Linked DNA regions of Homo sapiens: all the other regions are linked to region 3. The links are contacts of gene promoters, found by promoter capture Hi-C in human tissues and cell types (Jung and others, 2019). All regions are on one chromosome and are shown on one strand. Each heading gives the region's core, a stretch centred on a gene start or on the middle of the fragment in contact. The rest is flanking DNA. Distances are from core to core; before and after follow the strand shown. Region 1 overlaps LSM14A (LSM14A mRNA processing body assembly factor). Region 2 has its middle 110 kb from the start of LSM14A. Region 3 holds the start of KCTD15 (potassium channel tetramerization domain containing 15).

The links. Contacts are between HindIII fragments. The study calls those that stand out against the background at their distance.
Region 1: a fragment that was not itself captured here is called in contact with the fragment with the promoter of KCTD15 in region 3 in 1 of the 25 tissues and cell types used here (aorta).
Region 2: a contact is called between a fragment that was not itself captured here and the fragment with the promoter of KCTD15 in region 3, in 1 of the 25 tissues and cell types used here (lymphoblastoid cells).

Annotation. Positions count from the first base shown.
Region 1 is chr19:34,222,837-34,225,911 of GRCh38, forward strand. The region is part of intron 9 of LSM14A (LSM14A mRNA processing body assembly factor); the gene reads left to right. Among named protein-coding and RNA genes, the nearest start is that of GARRE1, 30 kb to the right of the region's middle. RefSeq lists an enhancer at 1,938-2,503. The HindIII fragment of the contact is 6,610 bases long and covers 1-3,075 here.
Region 2 is chr19:34,064,564-34,067,900 of GRCh38, forward strand. No RefSeq gene overlaps it. Among named protein-coding and RNA genes, the nearest start is that of LSM14A, 110 kb to the right of the region's middle. The HindIII fragment of the contact is 4,946 bases long and covers 1-3,337 here.
Region 3 is chr19:33,795,284-33,798,412 of GRCh38, forward strand. KCTD15 (potassium channel tetramerization domain containing 15) reads left to right here and starts at 1,587. Exons shown (of 7, transcript NM_001129994.2): 1 at 1,587-1,704. RefSeq lists a silencer at 166-285. The HindIII fragment of the contact is 17,228 bases long and covers 1-3,129 here.

The sequences.
Region 1 (3,075 bases), core at 18-2,517, 430 kb after region 3:
TCTGTCTTAGGAACTCCAGAATAGCCCTCGCTTATCACTGTTACTGCCCTTAAGTTTGCCAGTGACACCTTGCTTACAGAATTCAGCAGTAGTATTTTCACAAATATTTTATTTGCCATTAACTCCTCTGCAATATTTGACACTGACCAACCACCCAATTTGGGGTCTTTCTTCCTAGTCTTTAAAATACTCTTCTAGGTTTTCAATTTATACTCTTCCTAATTTTTTAATACTCTTCATTCTTTTTTTTGGGGGGTGGAGGGTGTCAGGGTCTTGCTGTGTCACCCAGACTGGAGTGCAATGGCATGATCATAAGTCACTGCAGCCTCAACCTCCCAGGCTCAGGCAGTCCTCCCACCTCAGCCTCCTATGTAGCTGGGACTACAGGCATGCACCACCATGCCCAGCTAATTTTTAATTTTTTTTGTAGACACTGGGTCCCACTCTCACTATGTTGTCCAGGCTGGTCTTGAACTCCTGGGCTTAAGCGATCCTCTCACCTCAGCTTCCCAAAGTGCTGGGTTTATAGGTGTGCCATGGTGCTTGTTCCATCCTCCCTTTTGTAAGCCTGTCCTGGACCCTATGTGTTTCTGCACCGCATCTCTATCTGCACTGTTTGCTGTCAGCTTAACCTTCCTCAGACTGATCTCATCATCTTCCTTCTCTCCTGTCATCTCAGCTCTGCCTCCTCCCAGTGTTCCATGTTGGCTCATGGTATACTGCCCAGGCACTAGAGGTATCCATGATTGTGGCCTGTTGCCATTTATTCCTTTGAGATGTCCCTGTCAACTACCATGGTAACCCACCAGTTGGGCTTCAGACCTTCGTCTCTCTTTACCCCACTTTAAGGCAGATCAGCTACATTTTGAACAACCTGTGACAACTCCTTGTTGAAGACCACATTGAGTCAGCTTGGTCTGAGAAAAAGTACATTTAAATTAGACTTGGATCCAGATGAGAATAATAGCAGTAGTTACTAGTATGACCTTTCAGACCCTTGGTTTTGACATTTGTGAATAAAGAGTTGCACCATTTATTCTGAAATAACACCTTTTAAAGATCATTAAACTTTCAGAGTTGGAAAACATCTGAGAGGTCTGACCTGGTTAAAACATAAACCTCTTCTGCAGTATCTCTTATAGGGGCTGGGAGCTTACTCTTCCCAAGGGCATCCATCCCACCCCAGGGATGTTCTAACTGTTACAATCTCAGCTGGGCGTGGTGGCTCACACCTATAATCCCAGCACTTTGGGAGGCTGAGGTGGGCGGATCACCTGAGGTCAGGAGTTCGAGACCAGCCTGGCTAACATGGTGAAACCCCGTCTCTACCAAAAACATAAAAAAAATTAGCCGGGCGTGGTGGCACACACCTGTAATCCCAGCTACTCGGGAGGCTGAGGCAGGAGAATCATTGAACCTGGGAGGCAGAGGTTGCAGTGAGCCGAGATCACGCCACTGTACTCCAGCCTGGGCGACAGAGCAAGACTCCGTCTCAAAAAAAGGAAAAAACAAACCTTCCATGCAGTAACTGTGTGTGCTCCATGTGGTTACTAATACAAACATTTTTTTGACACCATGTCACACTGTTTATCATTTTGAGCCTTTTGTAAAACTCGTATCACATATATTGCAGAATTGAAAATGCATTGTCATAGTTACCTCCATGCATCTTTGTCTACGCTCCTGTATCCTTGACAGATAGTCCAGCCTCTGCTTAGGTGTTGCCAGGAGTGATGGACTCAGCGAACCCTCAGGCATGGCCCAGTGTTTAGGAGGCTCAGTTGTGACATTGTAGTCCCTGCTCTTCTTAATTGTGTGAGGATCCCACTTGATATATTTGGCCTCATTCCTCATTACCCTTTAACCTATCTGATTCAAGCAAGCTGCCTCATGGTTATCTCACATACACATTGTGCTTGATTCCAACTCCATCCCCATTCATTTACCAAATATACAGAATTCTTCAGATATGCCAGGCACTATGTTGAGCATTGGTGCTGACCGATGTAGGCCCAGCCCTTTTGATGTTTACATTTTGGTGGGAGACAGACATAGCTAAAAGTCAGGTCCCCCCTTTCACTTATCCTTTACAGCCTTGCCCAAGTTTTGCTCTGTCTTCTCTTCCTTCCTACACTGATTTCCTCCTCTTCTGACCTGTGGCTATCTGCTTTCTTTGGCACACATTTTAAATACACTGACATTCCCTATTTTTTGTATTTAGTTTTGTTCTGCATCACCAGCTAGATGAGAACCTCTTGGCTTTAGTGAATATGTATTCTACTTTTCTTTCCATGACAACACTCAGCTCAACATGGAGCCATAGTGGGCTTGAAGTAATTGCTTGTCATGTTGATTAGGAATTTGCCACTCCAGCCTTCAGTGAGACCAAAGGTCTGTCAATGTAGCTAGCCTTTGATTGTTCATTCCAGAGTTGAATAATCCTTTCATCTGCCACTAGAGCCCCGAACCCAGCAGCCCTACACCTCCTAAATCATAAAATCATTTCACCTGGCACCTTTAAAGGTAGAAAATGGTGAGTGATCACTGTCACATAAAGGAGATTTACCACTGAAGATTAAACTTGTATCTGAAACATCTAACACTTCCTCCCAGAGATGGACATGGATGACATTTCTGCAGCCTTCATGAAATGAGTTGGCTTTATTTTTTGTGCTATATTAGCATGAGTCATTGTGGTTTGGGGGTAAGCATAAATGAGCTTGGTTGTTTAATGAAAACATGGGTAAAGATAAAATCATAAAGTTTTAGAATCCTTAAAAGAATCAGCCAAACTAGAATCTCTACGCTACCACACTCACATTAGATGATAAGGAAACTAAGGACCCCAAGAAGTTAATTGTCATGATTGAGGTACAAGCTAACAAATCCAAAACTCACTCTCTTGACTTGTGGCCTGATTTTCCTTAAGGGTAATATTGTAAATATAGGCCAGTGCAATGGTGTACACATGTAATACCAGCATTTTGGGAGGCCAGGGCAGGATTGCTTAAGCCCAGGAATTCAAGGACAGCATGGGCAACATAAGGAGTCCCTATCTCTATAAAAAAGTTTAAA
Region 2 (3,337 bases), core at 319-2,818, 270 kb after region 3:
CGTGACCTGCACGGTCACACACAGCCTGGCACTTCAAAGGGCTCTGTTGTCCGTCTTAAAATTCTTAACAACTTTTAAACAAGAGGACCCGCATTTTCATTTTATAGTAGGCCCTAAAAATTATGTAGCTGGGCCAGGCGCAGTGGCTCATGCTTGTAATCCCAGCACTTTGGGAGCTGAGGTAAGAGGATTGCTTGAGCATAGGAGTTCAAGACCAGCCTGAGCAACATAGTGAGACTCCATCTCCACAAAAATTAAACAAAATTAGCTGGCTATGGTGGCGAGAACCTGTAGTCACAGCTACCCAGGAGGCTGAGGTGAGAGTATCGCTTGAGCCCAGGAGACAGAGGTTACAGTGAGCCAAGATCGTACCACTGCACTCTAGCCTGGGTGATGCAGTGAGACCCTGTCTCAAAAAAAAAAAAAAAAGAAAGAAAAGAAAAGGGGGGATGGGGGCAAATAAGTAAGTTGTAGAATTATTACTAAAGGAAACAAGAGGTTGAACTATTTGAAATCACCATTTCTGTAGTCAAAAATTGCCAAGTATCAGCAATTTCATATGGCTCAACTCAACACTTCTTCAAAATGTAGGTAGTCATTCAAAAGACAACATTATCCAAAAACATGACAGTGGCAAAAAGAACATTACTCATAAAAAAAAAAAAAAAGGAAGTAAATTTAGGAATCTTAAAAGGGCATCGTTTATTACTCTTGTGATCAGAGAAAAATACATAAATATTAATTTTTTAAGTGCAATAATTCCAGAAGAAAGCAAACATATCACTAGAATGGAACAAGAAAAGCAATAAATGAACAAACATCCTCGCAGAAACCATAGCTGAAGAACATATGTATGGGTAAAGAAACAAATACTATAGTAAAAATAGTTTTATGTTTGAATTACAGGCATATTATGGCACATGTGCAATAAGACAAAATGACAATTTATTAAAACATGAATTCTACTTGATAAAAAAGCAAATTAGTGACTGGGTAATTCCTCTATTTATTATTTATTGAGCTAATAACAAATGCACAAAGAAATGAGACAGAAGGTTTTAAAACCTATTGGAGCCCTCTTTGTGGAACTGGGCCAATCAGGATCTTGCAGGCAGTTCTCACTCATGATATAAAAGGCCCTCTGGAGCATTCAGATGGGCTTTTTTAAAAATATACACAGCTGCTTGACACCAGGATGCCACGATGGGGTAGGTTAAATGGCTACCAACAGATACAAAGCCCCCAGCACTTTTTAATTCCTTAACCTTTTTCATTCTAGGTCTAATGATACACTTAGAATGGATGGCAGTGGAGGGATGGGTTTTGACTCCCTCCCCCACCTCAAGAATATTAGCAGATGCAGGAGACGACAATTAAGGTGTCAACATAAGGAAAATCAAAAATAAAAAGTAACCAAAGAGTTTAGATGATTTGGGTCTATCCTCAGAGCTCAATCCCGTCTATCAGAACATTTGATGCAGTGATTTTTCCTTTCTTCTTAAAATACTGTCTCCCTGCGGCTGCTGGCTCACCATACTCACCTGGTTTTATTTCCGTTTTCAAGGACCTCTACCTCTCTGTTTTCCTTGCTGAATCCTCTTCCCCTTCGCGGCTTCTAACTGTTGGAGCTCCCCCAGGGCTCAGTCTGAAGACCTCTTGTCATCCCCCAATACCTGGCGGATTTCATCCGGACCTGTGGCTTTACATGCCACCTCTACTCTGAGTACCGCGCATGTATCTGTCCAGCCCCTCCTGGCACCCTGAGCTCCACACATGCTTAGCAAGCCACGGATGCTGCATTTTCATTTGCATGTGTGATATGGTTTGGATGTGTGTCTCCTCCAAACCTCATATTGAAATGTGATCCCTCATGTTGGAGGTGGGGCTGGGTGGGAGGTGCTTGGGTCGCGGGGGTGGATCCCTCATAAATGGCTTGGTCCTATCCTTGCTGTAATGAGTGAGTTCTCACTCTATTAGTTCACATTGATGTGCAGACACGCAGGTGCCAATGGATTGAGCTGATTGTTTAAAGGAGCCTGGCGCCTCCTCCCCTCTCTCTTGCTCCCTCTCTTGCCATGTGACACATATGCTTCCCCTTCTCTTCCACCATGAAGCTTCCTGAGGCCCCACCAGAAGCCAAGCAGACGCTGTGCCATGCTTGTACAGCCTGCAGAACTGTGAGCCCAAGAAACCACTTTATCAATTACCTAGTCTCAGATGTTCCTTTATAGCAACACAAAATGGACTAATATAATGCCTAATAGGTATTTCAAATTCCATATGATTAAAACAATGCTCGATGCTCCCAATCCACTTCTCCAGTCTTCCCCGTTCACTGATGAGACTTAACACTGGGAGCCATCCATCACAGCCCATCTCCAATTCATCAACAAGCTCTATGACCTCTACCTTCAAAGCGAATCCTGAATCCCACCATGTATCACCATCTCCACAAAGATCATCCCCTTCCAGGCACGACTGTCTCTCACCTGGATCTCTACAATAGCTTCATGACCGTCACCTGCTCCCTACTTACCACCCCGGGGTTCCGAGAAAGCAGCCAGAGTTTTTTCTTTTTCTGTGTTTTTTTGTTTTGTTTTGTTTTGTTTTGTTTTTGAGATGGAGTCTCACTCTGTCATCCAGGTTGGAGTACAGTGGCGCGATCTGGCTCACTGGAACCTCTGTCTCCAGGGTTCAAGCAATTATCCTGCCTCAGCCTCCTGGGTAGCTGGGATTACAGGTGTGCACCACCACGCCCGGCTAATTTTTGTATTTTTAGTAGAGACGGGGTTTCACCGTGTTGGCCAGGCTGGTCTCAAACTGCTAACCTCAGGTGATGCACCCGCCTCAGAGCCTAAAGTGCTCGGATTACAGGCATGAGTCACTGCGCCCGGCATCCTTTTTATAATCAGATCACATCATCATTCTCCCACAGAAGCCCTGCAATGGCCTCCCACCACCCTTGGAACAAACCCCACTACTTCAAGACATGGTAGCATAAATTCTCATAATTACATCAGAGGATGATCCGGCAATGCCGAGTAAACCTGAAGATTAGAACACCTTCTGGCCTCGCTATTCTTTATCCCGGTATCTCCCTGAGAAAAACGCTTGCACAGATTCTGTACAGAGATGTCACTGCAAAACCACTTATCAGAGTGAAAAGGTATAAAACACTGATTGTTCCTCAGTAGAGACATTGATACAAAAATTAAGTTTGTTCCACATGGTAAAATGCTGGCACTAGTCAAAAGAAATAAATTAGATCTAAGCATAGTGTGCTAGAGTTAATGATTCCTGATGTTTGGCCGCTGACAGCTTCCAAGCCACATCACTG
Region 3 (3,129 bases), core at 337-2,836:
TGATTCCCGCGTAAAGAAGTTACGGAAGCGCTGTCTGGACGCTCTCTCCACGCGCGCGAGGTCCTCTAGTAGAGGGAGAAAGCCCCCCCCACTTCACCTTCCTCCCACTGGCACCCCGAGTCCCCCTCACCCCAGCTCCAGGCCGACCCCGAGCGCCCCCCACCCCGGGAGTGCGGCCGCTAGGGGGCGTCCAGGCCCGGCCGGAGCCGGCGGTCGGGACCCAGGCGCCGTTCCGGCCCGTGCGCACCCGCCCCGCGGTCCCAGCCGGTCTCCGGCCCGGGCGTCCCTGGAGCCAGGCGGGGGCGCAGTGCCGGCCAGTCGCGCGCTCCGTTTCCTAGGAGCCGGGAAATGGTCGCCGAGGAGGAGGAGGAGGCACGGGCGGGGCGCAAAGGAAACAGGAGGAAGAGGAAGGGGAGGAGGAGTGGGAGTGGGAGAAAAGGAGGAAGGGGCGGCCGAAGCGGAGACTGGGGAGGGGCGTCCGGGGCGCGGACCTCGGCCGCGGGGAGTCTTGGCTGCCGCCGTCTCCATCGCGCCGCGCGCGTAAAGGAAATGGCGCGTCTAGCCGCGAGCGGTCGGCCCGGTGCCCCAGCGCGTCCCTCCCCCGCGGCGGCCGACCGCGTGTCCGCAGACGTCACGGGAGAGGGGCAGCGGGGCAGAGACCCTGGGAGGGCGGCCAGGGAGCGGGGGAGGGGCGGCCTGGCCCCCGGCTCCGCTCCAGCCCCGACCGACTGGCAGCCCAGTTTCTTCCCAAGTCCCGCCCCCAGCCCCGGGCGCCGCGGCGGCGGCTGCTCTCCTCTTTGTAACCGAGGAGTCAAGAAATGTGAGAAACGTGCCCTGTGTTACTTATTTGGGAGCCGAAAATTTATGCCCAGCTGAAAGCGCCCGGGGAAATATTACATCAGATGAAATGACAATGATTAAAATCAGCCTCTCCCCCGCCCCCTCCCCGAGCCCGGAGGAGGCCCGGGCGCCGCGTGGCCGGCCGGCGGGGGGCGGGGGGCTGGGCCGCGGAGGGCGCTGGGGCCTGGGCGCACCGCTCCCGGGAGGGTCCTGGCCGCGGCCCCGGCGGGAAGGCGCGGGCTTCGGGAGAGGCGGGTGGGGATCGCCCGGCGAAAGGAGGGGAAACGGCGCGTTTTTGTCGCCAGGCGCGGGCGCGCGGAGCTAATTGCGACTCTAATCCTCTGCCCCGCGGCGCAGCCGAGCCCCGAGCCAGGAGTCGCCGCGCGCGCCCGTTCGCGCTGGGTAATTTGGGGCCGGATCGCTGCCCTTTACGTCCGGGCTGGGCCGCGGCGAGGCGCTGGCTAGGGGCTGGAGTGGGGGGCTGGTTTTCTCTCCAGCAATCGAGGGAGGCCGCCGGAGAGAGAGGAGGGAGGAGAGGAGGTGGGAGCGGCGGGAGGGCAGCCGGAGAGCGGCGCGAGGAGGAGGCGGCGGCGGCGGAGGCGGCGGCCGCGAAGAGGGGAGGAGGCGAGGGGAGGGTGGGGAGGGGAGGCCCCGGCGCGCCGCGCCGCGAGGGGCCGCGTGAAGCGGGGGCCGGGGCGGGAGGGGTGGGTGGGGGGAGGGTTGGGGGCGAGAGAGAAAGTAACTCCAGGACGAGACCGGAGCGACCCGCGCAGCGAGCATAGGCGGCGAAGCTGCGCCCGGCGCCCGAGACCGGCAGCTGCGTGGGGCGGGGGCTGCGCCCGAGCCCGATCTGCCGGCTCCGAGGTAAGCTCAGCGCGGGCGGCCACCGCTCAGAGCCGCGCAACCCTGCCCCGAAGTGGCTGCGATACCGAGAAAGTCGCCCGGCCAGGGTCTGGACCTGGGCGGGGGCGGCCGCTTTGTCCCTCTGCTGGGCGGCGGGGGCTGGCGGCGCGGGGGTGCCCAGCACAAAGGCCTGGTGCAAGAGTGGGGTTGCCCACGTGGGCTGGTCCTGGCCGCGGGTGGACCCTCCCCACGCGGGCGGTCTCGGAGCTTCCTGCCGCGCGGTGTGTGTGTGTGTGTGTGTGTGTGTGTGTGTGTGTGCGCGCGCGCGCGCGCGCGCTTGTGGAGGTCCCCGCACTCTGGCCCCTGTTCTGGGCCGAGCGCCCTGCAGAGCTGGCGAGTTTCCGGGGTCAGAAACGGGCTCACGCAACTGGGGCTTCGGGATGCACAAGTCCCGGCTTGGCGCCCAAAATCAGAGAAAGTCTCCAGTGGGACAGATGTGCGTCCTCTGACGCCCACCCCACGAGTCCGAAACCTGGCAGGAGGGGCTGTCGCGCTGGTGGTGGTCCCGGGCGCGCAGGGTTTGGGGCTGGGAGAGGGGCCGCGATGGGAGGGATCGCCGCCTGCAGATCCGGTTCCCCGCTGCCCGCCCGCACCCCCTGACCTGGACGCGCGCACCCGGCACACACTCGCAAACACACCCGGGGGCGGACCCCCGCCTCTGCAGCGCCTTTCTGTCTTCCGGCGGCCCCCACCCGCGACTGCAGAAAGATAAGCTTCAAGTTTTCGCTCCGTATCTCAAATGTGCATGAAGGAATTTAACTGCACGAGTGAATAACAGCATTAGTTTCAATTAATTTTTTTTTAATCCCGGCAACAATAAACTTTGAGAACAAAAGCGCTTTTACGTCCTTAATTAGGCGAGCTTCCCATCTGTGGTCTCCAAGTGTCTGCCTCTTGATTTAACTTTGTCCCCGCCCCGCCTCCGCGGCAACCCCTCCCAGCCCAGCCCCGCGCTTCGGGTGCCGCGGCCACCCCGCCCCGCGGCGCCTCCAGCCTTGGCCCAAGCCCTCTCCCGTCGCCCCTAAGTTCACACCGGCCGGCTGGCTCCGCGGCGGAGGCGGGAGGGGGGGGGTGGGGAGGCTGGCGCGCACCAGGTGGCCCGCCTGCCTCTCCGGGGCCACCCCTGGGACAATTGTGCAGGCCCCCAGGACTTTCGCCCCGGGCCAGCGCCCTGAGTGCGGAGCCGAGGGGAGCTCGAGAGGCGCCTTCTGTTTACCTTTTATGGTTAAAATAACAGCTTAGCAAAGAAGCGACTTCAGAAGAAGCGATTTAGTGAAATCGTCTCAAGCTGCCGCAGCTCAGCCAGTTTAATCACCCCCAGAGAGCCGAACAACTGCGAGCGCAATGGGACACAAAATCATTTTGTGTGTAAATGAGCGTGGCATT